Linked DNA regions of Homo sapiens: region 2 is linked to region 1. Evidence: promoter capture Hi-C in 16 types of primary human blood cells and fetal thymus (Javierre and others, 2016). All regions are on one chromosome and are shown on one strand. Each heading gives the region's core, a stretch centred on a gene start or on the middle of the fragment in contact. The rest is flanking DNA. Distances are from core to core; before and after follow the strand shown. Region 1 holds the start of ASPG (asparaginase). Region 2 has its middle 23 kb from the start of TMEM179.

Evidence for each region. The method cuts DNA at HindIII sites, captures the fragments that hold promoters and counts their contacts. A CHiCAGO score of 5 or more calls a contact.
Region 2: a contact is called between a fragment that was not itself captured here and the fragment with the promoter of ASPG in region 1, in 8 of 17 cell types (endothelial precursors, total B cells, M0 macrophages and 5 more). The highest score is 13.1, in endothelial precursors.

Annotation. Positions count from the first base shown.
Region 1 is chr14:104,083,132-104,089,998 of GRCh38, forward strand. ASPG (asparaginase) reads left to right here and starts at 2,569. Exons shown (of 16, transcript NM_001080464.3): 1 at 2,569-2,721. The coding sequence starts at 2,640. LOC124903408 reads left to right here. Exons shown (of 2, transcript XM_047432050.1): 2 at 1-564. The HindIII fragment of the contact is 21,966 bases long and covers 1-5,626 here.
Region 2 is chr14:104,623,848-104,630,714 of GRCh38, forward strand. No RefSeq gene overlaps it. Among named protein-coding and RNA genes, the nearest start is that of TMEM179, 23 kb to the left of the region's middle. The HindIII fragment of the contact is 2,429 bases long and covers 1,637-4,065 here.

The DNA.
Region 1 (6,867 bases), core at 1,319-3,818:
CGCTGTAGATGTAGGTGGACGCAGACAAAAGCAAAGCAGGACAGTGGATTCGTCCAAAGACCGGCAGTGTCTTCAGGTGAAGCTGCAGCGTCGAGTCCTGGTGCTTGCAAGGTTTCAGCAGCAGAAACCTGATGGGGCTCCTTGCACCTGGGAGAAAAGCCACTCCAGTGAGGATTATTGCCAGTGAAGGCTGCCCTGGCCCCAGACAAGTTTTCCTAGAATTTATGGTAGCAGGCGGGTTGTTAAAGGATGATTCCCGAAAGGGCCAGACATGGTGCTCACAGGGATGCAGGGTGAGCATGCGTCGAAGAGCTTCCCTAGCCCAGGCAGCTGTGAGGACCAGCTCAGAAGAGAAGTCCTGAAACAGACACTTACAGATGAGGAATATTGACATGATTGTGCAAATGGACCTGAAACTGGATTTTCAGGGGGCTGTGATGGGCTGGATTGTCTCCCTTAGATTCTAATGTTCAAGTCCCCCACACCCCAGTGTCTTAGAATGCAACTGTATTTGGAGGTAGACTTTAAAGAGATGGTTGAATTAAAATGAGGCCCCAAATTCAATCTGACTGGTATGTCTATAAAAAGAGAAAGTCTGGACATCTGGAGATACATCAGGGATGCGTGACTGCTCAGAGGAAAGACCCTGTGAGGCACAGCAAGAAGGCACCATCTGCTTGCCCAGGAGACACCAACCTGTGACACCCTGACCTTAGACTTCCACCCCCAAGAACTGTGAGAGGTAGACCTCCTTGCACTGTAAATCACTCGTTCTGTTACTGCAGTCCCAGAAAACTAACACAGACCTTTGCTGGGCAGAATGCCTTTGCTTCTCTGCAGACAAGATTACTTTTGCACTATTGCACTGTTGTTATCAAAATAATTATATGGGGCTGGGCATGGCGGCTCACACCTGTAATCCCAACACTTAGGGAGGCTGAGGTGGGTGGAGTACCTGAGGTCAGGAGTTCAAGACCAGCCTGGCCAACATGGTGAAACCCCGTCTCTACTAAAAATACAAAAAAAAAAAAAGAAAAAAAAATTAGCCTGGTGTGGTGTGCACCTGCAATCCCAGCTATTCGGGGAGGGGGCTGAGACAAGACAATTGCTTGAACCTGGGAGGCACAGGTTGCAGTGAGCCAAGATCTTGCTACTGCCCTCCAGGCAACAGAATAATAATAATTTTTATTATGGAATCAGTGTCAAATGCTGGTGCCTTCTGGGGGCAACACACAGTTTCCCACCAAAGTGCATCAGTGCCCCAGGCAGTCAAGGTGCCAGGAGACGAGGAGGCCGCGGATCTTCTGTCCACCTGGGAGCAAGCCTGCAGCTTGGGACCCTCCTGGGACCCTGCACCCGCCAGTGCCCTGCCCTCCTGGGCTCTCATGGGAGTGAAGGAGGGTGGGCTCTGTAGGAGTTAAAGAAAGAGGAAAGAAACATGAAAAGCGGCTCAACAAAGGCAGGTTTATTTTGGAGAATAAACCTGAAAGGGACTTCTGGCCGATTTTGGTCAGGAGCCATCTCTCCTACAGACTAAGGATCTTTAAGGGTTTAGGAAGTGGGGAGCTTATCGCAGGCTCGGAATGTTTCTATGTGAGGGAAAGTTTATTGCGGGCTTGGAATGTCTCTGGTCGGAGGGGAGGTTATCTCGAGGTTGGCATGTTTCTGATTGGAGATGTTATTTGTGGTTTACGGTCGTGCTGACATTAGCTATTGGGCTGATGTGTTTTGGGCTGGATTTAGGCAGCTTTTTAATCAAAGGGAACCTAAAATGGCGGTGTTTGTCCAAGAAGGCCATACTCCTGCTCTGTCCCGCTCCAGCCCTTGGGGGCCCCTCGGGCTCTTCTCTTGGATGGTGTGTGAATGGGCACATGTGGAGGGGCTGGTCCAGCTCTGCCTGCCTCTGGCCATCCAAAGGAGGGACAGCAGGGCCTGGGCAGCAATGCCGGCCTTGGAGCCCCGGGGCTGTGGAGGCTGCTTGACAGGACACGGAGCCCCCTCTGTGCTCAGGTCGTGGAGGGCCTCGGGCACTACGGTCTGCCAGGCACCACATGTCACAGCTACTCAAACACCCAGGGCCGCCACGGAGGGCCAATGGCCGCAGGATGGCTCAGGACCCGCCCCACCCCTGTCGCTGCCTTTCTGGCTGCCCCCTAGTCCCTGGACAGGCGCTCCCCAGCCCCAAGCAGGCCCCAGCCAATCTCCTGCCCAGGCAGGAGCTCCCCCTGCCGCCCTCACAGACCTCACCTCTTCCTACACGTTTCCAAGGCCGCGCCCCGCCCCGCACCCCGCCAGGCCCCGCCCCGCACCCCGCCAGGCCCCGCCCCGCACCCCGCCAGGCCCCGCCCCGCACCCCGCCAGGCCCCGCCCCCACCCCGCCAGGCCCCGCCTCTCTCTCCGACCCTGGACAGTCCCCGGGACCCACCCCGCCCCCAGGTCCTGCCCCCGCCCGCCTCCGCGGGGCCTCCCACCCTCCCGGGCAGACTCCACTCCCGCCCCCTCCCCGTGGGTGCCCCCGCCGGCCCCGCCCTCCCAGGCTGCCCCCGGCGCCCCGGGCCTCCTCCGCGCAGTCCCTGAGTCCCGCAGGCCCTGCGTCCCCGCTGCACACCCCCGTCCACTCCCGTGGTCCCCGGTCCGGCATGGCGCGCGCGGTGGGGCCCGAGCGGAGGCTGCTGGCCGTCTACACCGGCGGCACCATTGGCATGCGGAGTGAGCTCGGCGGTGAGTCCGAGACCCTGGGCGGGGTAGGCCTCTGGACCTGGCCGCGACCGGGAGCCTCGGACCCTCCTGCACCCACGGGGGTCGTTGGGGAGTCAAATCCGCGCCTGGATGGGGGGTGCGGGCTGAGGTCGCTCTCCTCCGGTTCCGGCCACCGGCGTCCCCACGCATGGAGCCCCGACCTGGACAGAGGAGATTGCGGTGGGTTCTCGCCGTCGCGGTGCTCCCGGGAGCGCCCTGCGACCCTGGGGCCAGGCCCCCTGTGCTGCCGCTGCGCCCCTGAGGGCCAGCGTCCTGAAGTCCTGGAATATGGGGCGGGAGGGCCCCAGGGCATTGGCCTGCCGCTCCTGCTCTGGACACAGAAGGCTTAGGAGGCTGCCCTGGAGAAGGCTTAGGAGGCTGCGAGGACCCCTCAACTGCGACACCCAGGAGGGTGTCCCCGTCCCCTGGGGTCCTGGTCAGGCAGCAGTGGTTGGCACGATACTGGGGCTACCTGGCATCTGCGGGGACGCACGTGTTCACACCCGAGGTGGCCTCAGAGCCCTGCTTCCTCTGCCCCTGTGTGGACCTGGTTGACCAGAGACCAGCGATTGCGTCTGGACTGAGTTCTGCCTGGGTGGGGTCAGGGCCTGGGACAGGCACCGAGCTCTGTGGTACTCCAGCACAGTGCTGCCAGCCTGGGCTGGGCACAGGAAGGATGGTAGCTTGGGGAGCCTGAGGCCACCGGGATGGGGAGAGGACGGTTGCACTGGAGCCTCCAGAATGCCTGGGTGTTCCCCAGGAGGGCAGGACACTGCCTGGGGCCCCCAGATGGGCTCTGCTGTGATGTGGGGCCTCCCTTGGGGCCAGGACAGCCCCCTCGCCCCGTCTTGAACCTGTTTGCGACCCTCCATGGGCCACTGCCTGCCTTTCCCTCAGGAGCCCTTTCCACTCCTCCTCCTCCCACTCCCTGCTGCCCTGGCCCCTCCCCACACTCCTGCTTGTGTCCAGCGCAGCTCTCTCTCCTGGGACGGCTGGGACCCTCTCCGGCTCTGCCAGAGCCCAGGGCCTCCCCTGGCATGACCAGAACATTCTCTTGTCCCTTGCCCATCTGCCAACCACTTCCCCGCCCCTCCTATCCCCACCCCCTCTCACGGCCTGTTCCCTGGCAGCTGCCCCTCCTGGCCACCCCTTTCTGCTGAAGTGGCTGCTCAGAAGCCACCAGCACTCTGTCGGTGCTCTCAGATTCCACCCACCACACTGTGGCCGGTGCAGACCCCTCTGGAGGCCCACTCTGCGCCCAGCCCAGGAGACAAAGCCTAGTGGGGCTCGTCCACGAGGGACTCAGGTCCCCAAGAACGTGGCTGTCCAGGCTGCCGGGAGCCTCCTCTGCACTTCTCCTTCTGCCTGTGAATGGAACAAAGTCATTCACAGCTTGGCAAACGCCCCTGTGTGACACTCCACTGACACAGAGTGACACAATTCCTGTGCTTGGCCCTCACAAGCTAGAGAGAGAGGCTGCCATTGAAGGGATGGCATGCATTAAGGAGCTAGTCCCAGGGGCAGGATCTGCCAGGGCCCTGTAGGGGCTGTGGGCTGATAACAGGGTCTGAGCTGGGTGTGTGGATGGTGTGGAGTTTGGAGGCAGCCCAGGGAGGGCTTCTCTGAGGACACAAGGCCTGCAGGACAAAGATGGGAGAGGGCCAGGCCAGGAGCAGCCCTGCAAGGTGCAGGAAAGAGGAGTGGGGAGCCCAGCAGGGCCGGAGCCTGCCAGAGCTGCCCCCGAGTGGGGACAGGACCTGGGGACTCTGTGTGGGGCCTCGTCCGACGCCCCTGACGCTACCCCTTCAGGCTTGGAGTGTGGCCAACTGCAGTTTCGTTGAGCTCAACATGTAGTTCTTGAGTGGTCCGAGCTGCAGGGGCAGGTGGACTCTGTAACCCCACCACACACCCGTCTCGCTTGGCCCCCGCGTGCTCGCCGCAGCAGCCTGTGGGTGCACTCACACGCGTGCACCGCATTTCTGAAAGAGGCTGTGAGGTCCTGTGTCTGGGTGGGAAACAAGAGACTTGGAGGCTGGAAATTGGGTGTGGGGCGTCAGTCTTCAGACCTGAAGCAGCCTTCTGAGATCCCTTGGTGCTCTGTGCACTGGGGTCCTGGCTTCTGCTCAGCAGCCCGTCCTCGTGTGGCTGCGAGGTCACCCCCAGCTGTTGCTAGCTGACCCATGTGGGGCATCCACTTCCAGGAACCTGCAGGAATGGGCTCCCCCAACCCCTCGTGAGGTTGGAGCAGCCAGACTGTCAGGCGTCAATGATTTACTCCCTCCACACTGCTGACGTGGGCTCTGGCCTTCCCTGGGGAGGTGAGAGGGGAGTGGTGGCTTTGCCCTAGTAAAGCTGTTTGATTGTCGCTGTTGGAACGGCTTCTGCGCCTGCTGGTAAACAGTGACCTGTGGGTGGAACGCTGCACACCTGGAGCCCTGCCAGAGTTCAGGGAGGGCAGAGGTGATGCCAGTGGGGACGCCCCTTGACCCATCCCTTCTCTGAGTTCATTGAAGCTATCACAGGTCAAGGGGCATAGCGAATCCAAACACGGCTGATAACCCCAAGCCCAAGCTGGCATCAGTGGCCACGTTCTGTACACCCGAGAAACTTGAAGACTTCCTATGTCAAACTGGGAACCCCACCTGCTTGCCGGCCTGTCCCAAAGTCCCTCCTGAGCCCGGCTCCTTGCAGGCACAGCAGGGAGGGCAGAGATCTGGGGCCAGGCAGCTGAGAGAAGCTCCCTGCCCGGTGACCACACGGGTCCCAGCAGTCGAGAGTGTCAGTGGAGTGATGCCCATGGCTTCTTGGTTACTGCAGTGGCGTCTGTGCCCTTGGCCTGGACCTCCTTCCTGAATGGGTGCTACACGTTCACAAGTTTCTAAGCCTAAGCTTGACTTCGCTGGTGACAGTGGGGCCCATTGTCTTAGAGAGCAAAGCCTCCTTTCCAGGTGTTTGGCAGGGGGCTGAGGAGTTTCCAAGTCACCAGCAAACTCAGGCACCTGCCTGGATGGGCCAAGGAAGAGGTTCCAGGCAGGGCTGGAGGGTTCAGATTCTGCAGCCCTTGAAGCTTTTGGAGGGCCCTCATTGAGAAAAGTAATACAAGTTACAAAATCATAGTTAGGTGTGAAAGCCGGTGTTTGTTTATTTTTTATTTATTTTTATTTTTTTGAGATGGAGTCTCACTCTGTCGCCCAGACTGGAGTGCAGTGGCGCGATCTCAGCTCACTGCAAGCTCTGCCTCCCGGGTTCACACCATTCTCCTGCCTCAGCCTCCCGAGTAGCTGGGACTACAGGCGCCCGCCACCGTGCCCGGCTGAAAGCTGGTGTTTATTTAAAATAACAAAAGAAATTGCCCCAGCTGACTGGGCGCGGTGGCTCACACCTGTAATCCCAGCACTTTGGGAGGCTGAGGTGGGTGGATCACTTGAGATCGGGAGTTCAAGACCAGCCATGGACAACATGGTGAAACCCTGTCTCTACTAAAAATACAAAAAAAAAATTAGCCAGATGTGGTGGCAGATGCCTGTGGTCCCAGCTACTGGGGAGGCTGAGGCATGAGAATCGCTTGAACCCAGGAGGTGGAGGTTGCAGTGAGCCGAGATCTCGCCACTGCACTCCAGCCTGAGTGACAGAGTGAGACCCTGTCTCAAACAAACAAAAAAAACTGATGCCACTACATACCTGTTAGAATGGCTGCTGACGTACAACACATTGACTGCGGGGTGAGTGCTGGAGCCCCAGAGTTGGAAAGTGGTCCACTCGCAGGTTGGTAAGAAAACTTTACTGGCGACAGTATAGGTTTGAAAAAGGAACGTTTGGCCAGACATGGTGGCTCAGGCCTGTAATTCCAACACTTTGGGAGGCCAAGGCGGGTGGTTCACTTGCCTTGCTAACATGGCGAAACCCCGTCTCTACTAAAAATAAAAAATTAGCTAGGTGTGGTGGTGCATGCCTGTAATCCCGGCTACTCGGGAGGCTAAGGCAGGAGAATTGCTTGAGCCGGGTGGGTGGAGGTTGCAGTGAGTCGAGATGGCATCACTGTACTCCAGCCTGGGCAACAGAGTGAGACTCTGCCTCAAAAAAAAAAAAAAAAAAAAAAAAAAAGGAAGAAAGGAGAAGAAAAAGAAA
Region 2 (6,867 bases), core at 1,601-4,100, 540 kb after region 1:
GAATCTGTCTTGGTCCTGTTAGGCTGCTCTAACAAATACCTACAACTGGGAAGTTCACAGGCAACACAGTTCTTGGGGCTGAGAACTCCAAGGTCAATGTGCCAGCAGATTCGATGCCTGTGAGGGTGCTTTCCACGTGTCCTCACAAGGCGAAGCGGCAAGCGGTTCCCTCGGGCCTTAACAAGGGCCTTAACAGGGCACTAATCCTGTTCCAAATGGGCAGCCCTTCTCACATCCTAGTACAACACCTTGGGAGCTGGGTTTCAACATAGGAATTTTGGGGGGACGTGAACACTTAGACCATCACAAAGTCATGGGCTTGATTCACTTACCACAGGAAAAAAAATCACTTTGGCTCACAAGTGACATCCAACTACATGCTGTATTCAAGACACAGCTGAAGTAAAGTGATCCAAAATGCTGGAATTGAAGGGATGAACGAAGGTACATGAGTCATATAAATGCAGCAAGAAAAGAAATGGGGACCACGCTAGCAGGCAAGGTAAAATTCAAGACAAAAAAGCCTTAGGCAGCACGAAGAAGGACTTTTTAATGCAAAAAGACAAGATTCACGCAAAGATCAGTTATGCAACAAGTAACTCAGGGCCAGATGTGGTGGCTCATGCCTGTAACCCCAGCACTTTGGGAAGCTGAGGCAGGCAGATTGCTTGAGCCTCAGGAGTTCAAGACCAGCCTGGGCAACATGGCGAAACCCAGTCTCTACGAAAATTAGCTGGGCATGGTGGGCATGCCTTGGTCCCAGCTACTAGGAAGGCTGAGGTGGGAGGATTGCTTGAGTCCAGGAGGTTGAGGCTACAGTGAGCCGAGATCATGCCACTGCACTCCAGCCTGGGTGACAGAGCGAGACCCTGTCTCAAAAGTAAATAAATAAAAATAACTCAGCAACCACCTTCAAGGAGCAAAAACACAGAAACTGTAAGGAGTCATAGCAGCAAACTAGCAATAGGAAACGTTAGCATATCACTCCCGGAGCAAGGCGGCTCAAGGGAACAAAAAAATAAGTAAAGTGGGTCGGCTTGTGTCCGCCAGGAAGCAGGCAGGCGCTGAAGTCAGGATGTAAGAGGTGCATTAGGGGCAGCACCTACGGAAGGTGAAGGTGAAGCAGGCACAGGATTGGACAGGCAGAGCCGGGGGCTGAGACGTATGTCTCACAAAGTCTCAACAACCCTGGGGGAGGTTTAAGGCAAAGACTGCATGAAAGGCCCAGGTGAACAAAACTGGCCAGGTCCTCATCCCATGCCTGCCCCTGCCATTGCCTGAGGCTGCCCAGGAAGAACAAGGCCTGCTGCAAGCATTGTGGCAGCCCCGGAAGGGGCTACAGCTGCAGGCCATTGGCTAACTGCTCCTCTCCAGCAGAGAGACAAATGCTTCTGGAAAGGAGATCTGAGCAGCTCACCTCCCTGGCTGCCACATAGAACACAGAAGATCTAAACAACACAGCGGCTCCAGTAGAGCCAGTGGGTGCATTTTATATTCACACACACACACACACACAGACACACACACACACACAATTTACAGTTTTAGCCTGGAGATGGATGGTGGTGATGGTTGCTGAGCGATATGAATGTAGTTAACGCCACTGAACTGTTCACTTACAATGGTTAAAATGGTAAGCTTTATGTTATTATATTTCACACTTAAAAACCTACACTAAGATACCTTCTCATATGGATAGAAATTACAAAGCATGACAATATACTCTGTTGGCAAGGCTGTGGGAAACAGTAACTCTTATACATTACTAGTGGGAGTGTAAACTGCTACAAGCCTTTAGGAGGTGAATTTGGAGTTGTTTTTTTTTTTTTTTTTTGAGACAGAGTCTCGCTCTGTCGCCCAGGCTGGAGGGCAATGGCGCCATCTCAGCTCACTGCAACCTCCGCCTCCCAGGTTGAAGCGATTCTCCTGCCTCAGCCTCCCGAATAGCTGGGATTATAGGTGCGTACCACTGCACCTAGCTAATTTTTTTTTTTATTTTTAGTAGAGAGGGGTCTCACCATGTTGGCCAGGTTGGTCTCAAACTCCTGGCCTCAGGTGATCCTCCGGCCTCGGCCTCCCAAAATGCTGGAATTACAGACGTGAGCCACCAGGCCCAGCCGGAATTTGGAGTATCTTACCAAACTGTGGCCTGTAGTCACATTTCCACCCGGCTATCCCACCTCTGGGGAGCCACACGGAAACTGCGTAAGCCCAGAGTTATTCATTGCAGCCTATATGGGGAAACCCTGTATATCAGGCAACTGGAGAGTAGTGGATAAACCATAATACATTCATGCAATGAAGTTCTATGCAGCTTTGAAAAAGAGTGATAAAGACTCCTAAGAACTCAACTCTGTGAGTGGCTTCCAGATGAACTTTTTACATTATAAAAGCAAAGAGCAGAACAGCATCTATAGAATGCTCTCTTTGTGTAAGAAGTAAATGGAAACAGGAAATTAAACATGCAGCTACTCTTTTGTGCAAAAAGAAACACAGTGATATGGTTTGGCTCTGTGTCCCCACCCAGATCTCATGTTGAATTGTAATTCCCAGTGTTGAAGGTGGGGTCCTGGGGGCAGGTGACAGGATCATGGGGGTGATTTCTAAAGGTTTAGCAACACCTCACTAGTGCCATCTCCTATAGAGTTCTCACCAGATCTGATGTTTGAAAAGTGTGTAGCACCTCCCACTTTGTTCTCTCTCTCTCCTACAGCCATGTGAAGATGTGCTTGCTTCTCCTTCACCTTCCACCATGATTGTAAGTTTCCTGAGGCCTCCCAGCCATGCTTCCTGTATAGCCTACAGAACTGTCAGTCAATTAAACCTCTTTTCTTTATATTAACAAATTACCCATTCTCAGATAGTTCCTTATAGCAGTGTACGAATGGACTAATACAAGAATAATAAACGAGAAACATATAAGGTTGTTTGGCTATAGAGGCTTGGATAAACCAAAGGAGTGGAAAAGATGGGGGAATGGGAACAGGGTAGCAAGTGGGGGAGAGACACTGTGGGCACTTTTATTTTCTATTGTTCTGACTTTTAGAACCATGTTAATGCTTCACATGCTCAAACATAAATAAGTAACTAAAATTTATTAAAAGAACCAGAGCTGCTTGGAGAAATAACTGGAGAAGGGAAAAATCATAATCTTGAACTACAGAAGTAATCAAAAAAATGAGAGGGATGTGTCAAAAGAACACAGGGGTGGCCAAAAGTAGCTCCCAATGGCATCGGCTGGGAAATCTGTACAACAACATAAATAATAATCACATTGAACTAAAATAGCTAAAATCAGAATTCATGGGTCTATACTGCTATAAATAATTGAAGGAATAATGAATAAATATATAAATTATAAAAACATTCAAAAGAAAACTATGGTCATTAGAATTTTTAAAATCAGTGAATAGATTCATAGAAGTTAAGACACAGCTGTAGAGAAAATTACTATCTGTAAAGGTCTGAAGAAATCATCCAGCAGGCAGAGCAAAGAAATGAAAAGAGGGAAGATATGAAAGAGCGTCAAGAAGGAAAGAATGAAGTTTACCTTATCTCTAATTGGAGCTCCAAGAGAGAATAGAACTGAGACCATGTTTGAGAGACCGTGTGCCGGTCCCCAAAACCACCCCCAAACATGAGATTTGCTAAAAGGATTCACAAGACCCAGCACATTGTCATACTCATGGCTAAGATTTATCACGGCAAAAGAATCCACAGAAAAATCAGCAAAGGGAAAAGTCTCATGGGGTGAAATCTGGAGGAAACAAGGCACAAGTTTCCAGGAGCCCTGATATGGTTTAGATCTGTGTCCCCACCCAAATCTCATGTCAAATTGTGATCCCCAATGTTGGAGGTGCGGCCTGGCAGGAGGTGCTGGAATCATGGGGGTGGATTTCCTATGAATGGTTGAGCACCATCCCCCTTGGCACTGTCCTCATGATGATGAGTGAGTTCTTATGAGATAGAGCTGCTTAAAAGTATGTAGCCCCTCCCCACTCAGTCTCTTCCTCCTGTTCTCCATGTGACGCACCTACTCCCCCTTCTCCTTCCACCATGATTGGAAGCTTCCTGAGGCCACCTCAGAAGCTGAGCAGATGCCAACATCATGCTTTCTGTACAGCCTGCAGATCCATAAGCCAAGTGACCCTCTTTCCTTTATAAATTACCCAGTCTCAGGTATTTTTATAGCAATGCAAAAATGAACTAATATAACTCCTTTCCTAATAATAGTCACATAAGATGAACTTAATTCCCCCAGCAACAAATTGTGATGACACAGGTGAGTTATTGTCTACCAAAGCAGCTCATCAGAGTTGCAGTACCCAGGGATTCCAGCTGGTCACACAGGCACCCCCTGCCTAGCACATACCAAAACTCCAGGCTCCCAGAAGAAAAGCAGGTGTTTAGCATAAACTAACTTTACTATTTGCACAAACTGTTTAGAGACAATGAGCCACTCACTCTTGTCAGTTCTAGAAATGACAAGCACCCTCCTGAAATCCATGTTTGGCCAAGGCCATCCTTGTGAGTAGCCTTTCTAAGGGTGAGCAGTCTCAGGCTTGCCACAGTCATTCTTTTCTTCACAGATACAATGGCTGAGAGGTTTCCAGAATTGATGAAAGACAGGGATTCTCAGATTCACAATTCCTAATAAGTTCTAGGCAGAATAAATAAAATTAATCACATTCCTAATTATATCTCAGTGTATAACTGCAGAACATCATGACAAGGAGAATATATTAAGAGTAAACAGCAGGCCGGGCACGGTGGCTCATGCCTGTAATCCCAGCACTTTGGGAGCCCGAGGCGGGTGGATCACGAGGTCAGGAGATCGAGACCACCCTGGCTAACATGGTGAAACCCCGTCTCTACTAAAAATACAAAAAAAATTAGCCAGGCGTGGTAGCAGGCATCTGTAGTCCCAGCTACTCGGGAGGCTGAGGCAGGACAATGGCGTGAACTCGGGAGGTGGAGGTGGAGGTGGCAGTGAGCCGAGATTGCACCACTGCACTCCAGCCTGGGCAACAGAGTGAGACTCTGTCTAAAGAAAAAAAAAAAAAAAAAAAAAAAACAGAGTAAACAGCAAAAACCAGAAGTATTGGTTTGCTAGGCCTGCCATAACAAAATACCACAGACTGGGAGGCTTAAACAACAGAAATTCCTTTTCTCAGTCCTGGAGGCTGGAAGTCCAAGCTCAAGCTGTCGGTGTTGGCAGGTTTGGTTTGTGCTGAGGCCTCTCTCCTTGCCTGGCGGATAGCCACCTTCCCAGTATGCTCTTCCATGGCCTTTCCTCCGTGTGTCTCTACCTCTTCTTATAAGGACACCAGTCAGATTGGATTAGGATCCCCCTCAGTGGCCTCGTTTTTAACTTAATTACCTTTTATAGACCTTATCCAAACACGATTACATTCTGAGGTACTGGGGATTGGGATGTCATCCTGGGGAGTGGGGCACAATTTAGCCCATATTGGCAGATAACCTACAAGGGAACTATAATTCAGCTGACTTCTTAACAACAACAATAGAAGCCAGAACAGAGTGAGGAAATGTCTTCACCATGCTGAGAGAAAGTATGTGTCAACCTGGAATTTTATACCCAACAACATTGCCAGTCAGGGTGGCAACTATATTTTTTAAAACACTTTCAACAAACAAAAATTAAAAATTGAACAATCACATTCCTTCACTGAAAGAATTCCTAAAGGATATTTTTCAGAGAGAAACAAATTAAATCCAAAGGAAGGAGTGAGAGTCAAGAAGTAGTGGTGGGGTGCTAGGCATGGTGGCTCACACCTGCAATCCCAGCACTTTGGGAGGCCAAGGCCAGTGGATCACCTGAAGTCAAAAGTTCAAGACCGGCCTGGGCACCATGGTGAAACCATGTCTCTACTAAAAATACAAAAATTATCCAGGCATGGTGGTGGGAGCCTGTAATCCCATCTACTCAAGAGGCTGAGGCACGAGAATCGCTTGAACCCAGGAGGCGGAGGTTGAAATGAGCTGAGATCGTGCCATTGCACTTCAGCCTGGGTGACAGAGTGAGACTCTGCCTCAAAAAAGAAAAAAAAAGTAGTGGTGAGGAGAAAATATAAAATATGTAAGTAAATCCAAATGAGATTAATCGTTATTAAATGATGATAAGGACAAATTTTGTGATATGAAAACAAGAAATAAGATGAAACTAAAATAACAGTTCAGAAAAACACATACAGAATAGTATAATTACCATTCAAATATTCCAACGTCCTTTTAATATTCTAGAGGATTGTATAGATTTTGATTGCGTTTAGACTTTAAGCCAAGTATGCATGTATCTACTAAAAATAAAAACAGAATTTGGAAAGAAAAAGGAAGAAGGAAAAAAATGCCTCAGCCCCACAGAAAACAGAAAACGAGGGAGAAAGAAGCCAAGGAAAATCACAAGAAATAAAAATCACAAAATAAAATTGCAGAAGTGAATCCAAATGTGTCAATAAATATGAATAAACTGAACTTGCAAGTTAAAATAGAGCTTCGACAAAACCAAATCCAGCTATACGCTTTCCTAAGAGATGCAAAATACAGAAACACCAACAATTTAGGTTTCAAGAAGAAATTTTAAAAATTAGCAAATACTTTATTCTCTTTAAGTTTATGAAGTTATATTAATACCAAACAAAATAAATGTCAAGTAAAAAAGCATTAGTAAAGATTCAGAGATTACCGTAGAATGACAAACATAGCTCAAATATATAAATAAAAAAGGTTCAGATTACAATGAAAAATTGACAAGTTGACATCAGAGTGGAAGATTTTCCACTTCACAACTGAAAATCATAAAAACTAATAAGGATCAGAAAGAAGAGAAAAGCACAGTGAAGCAGC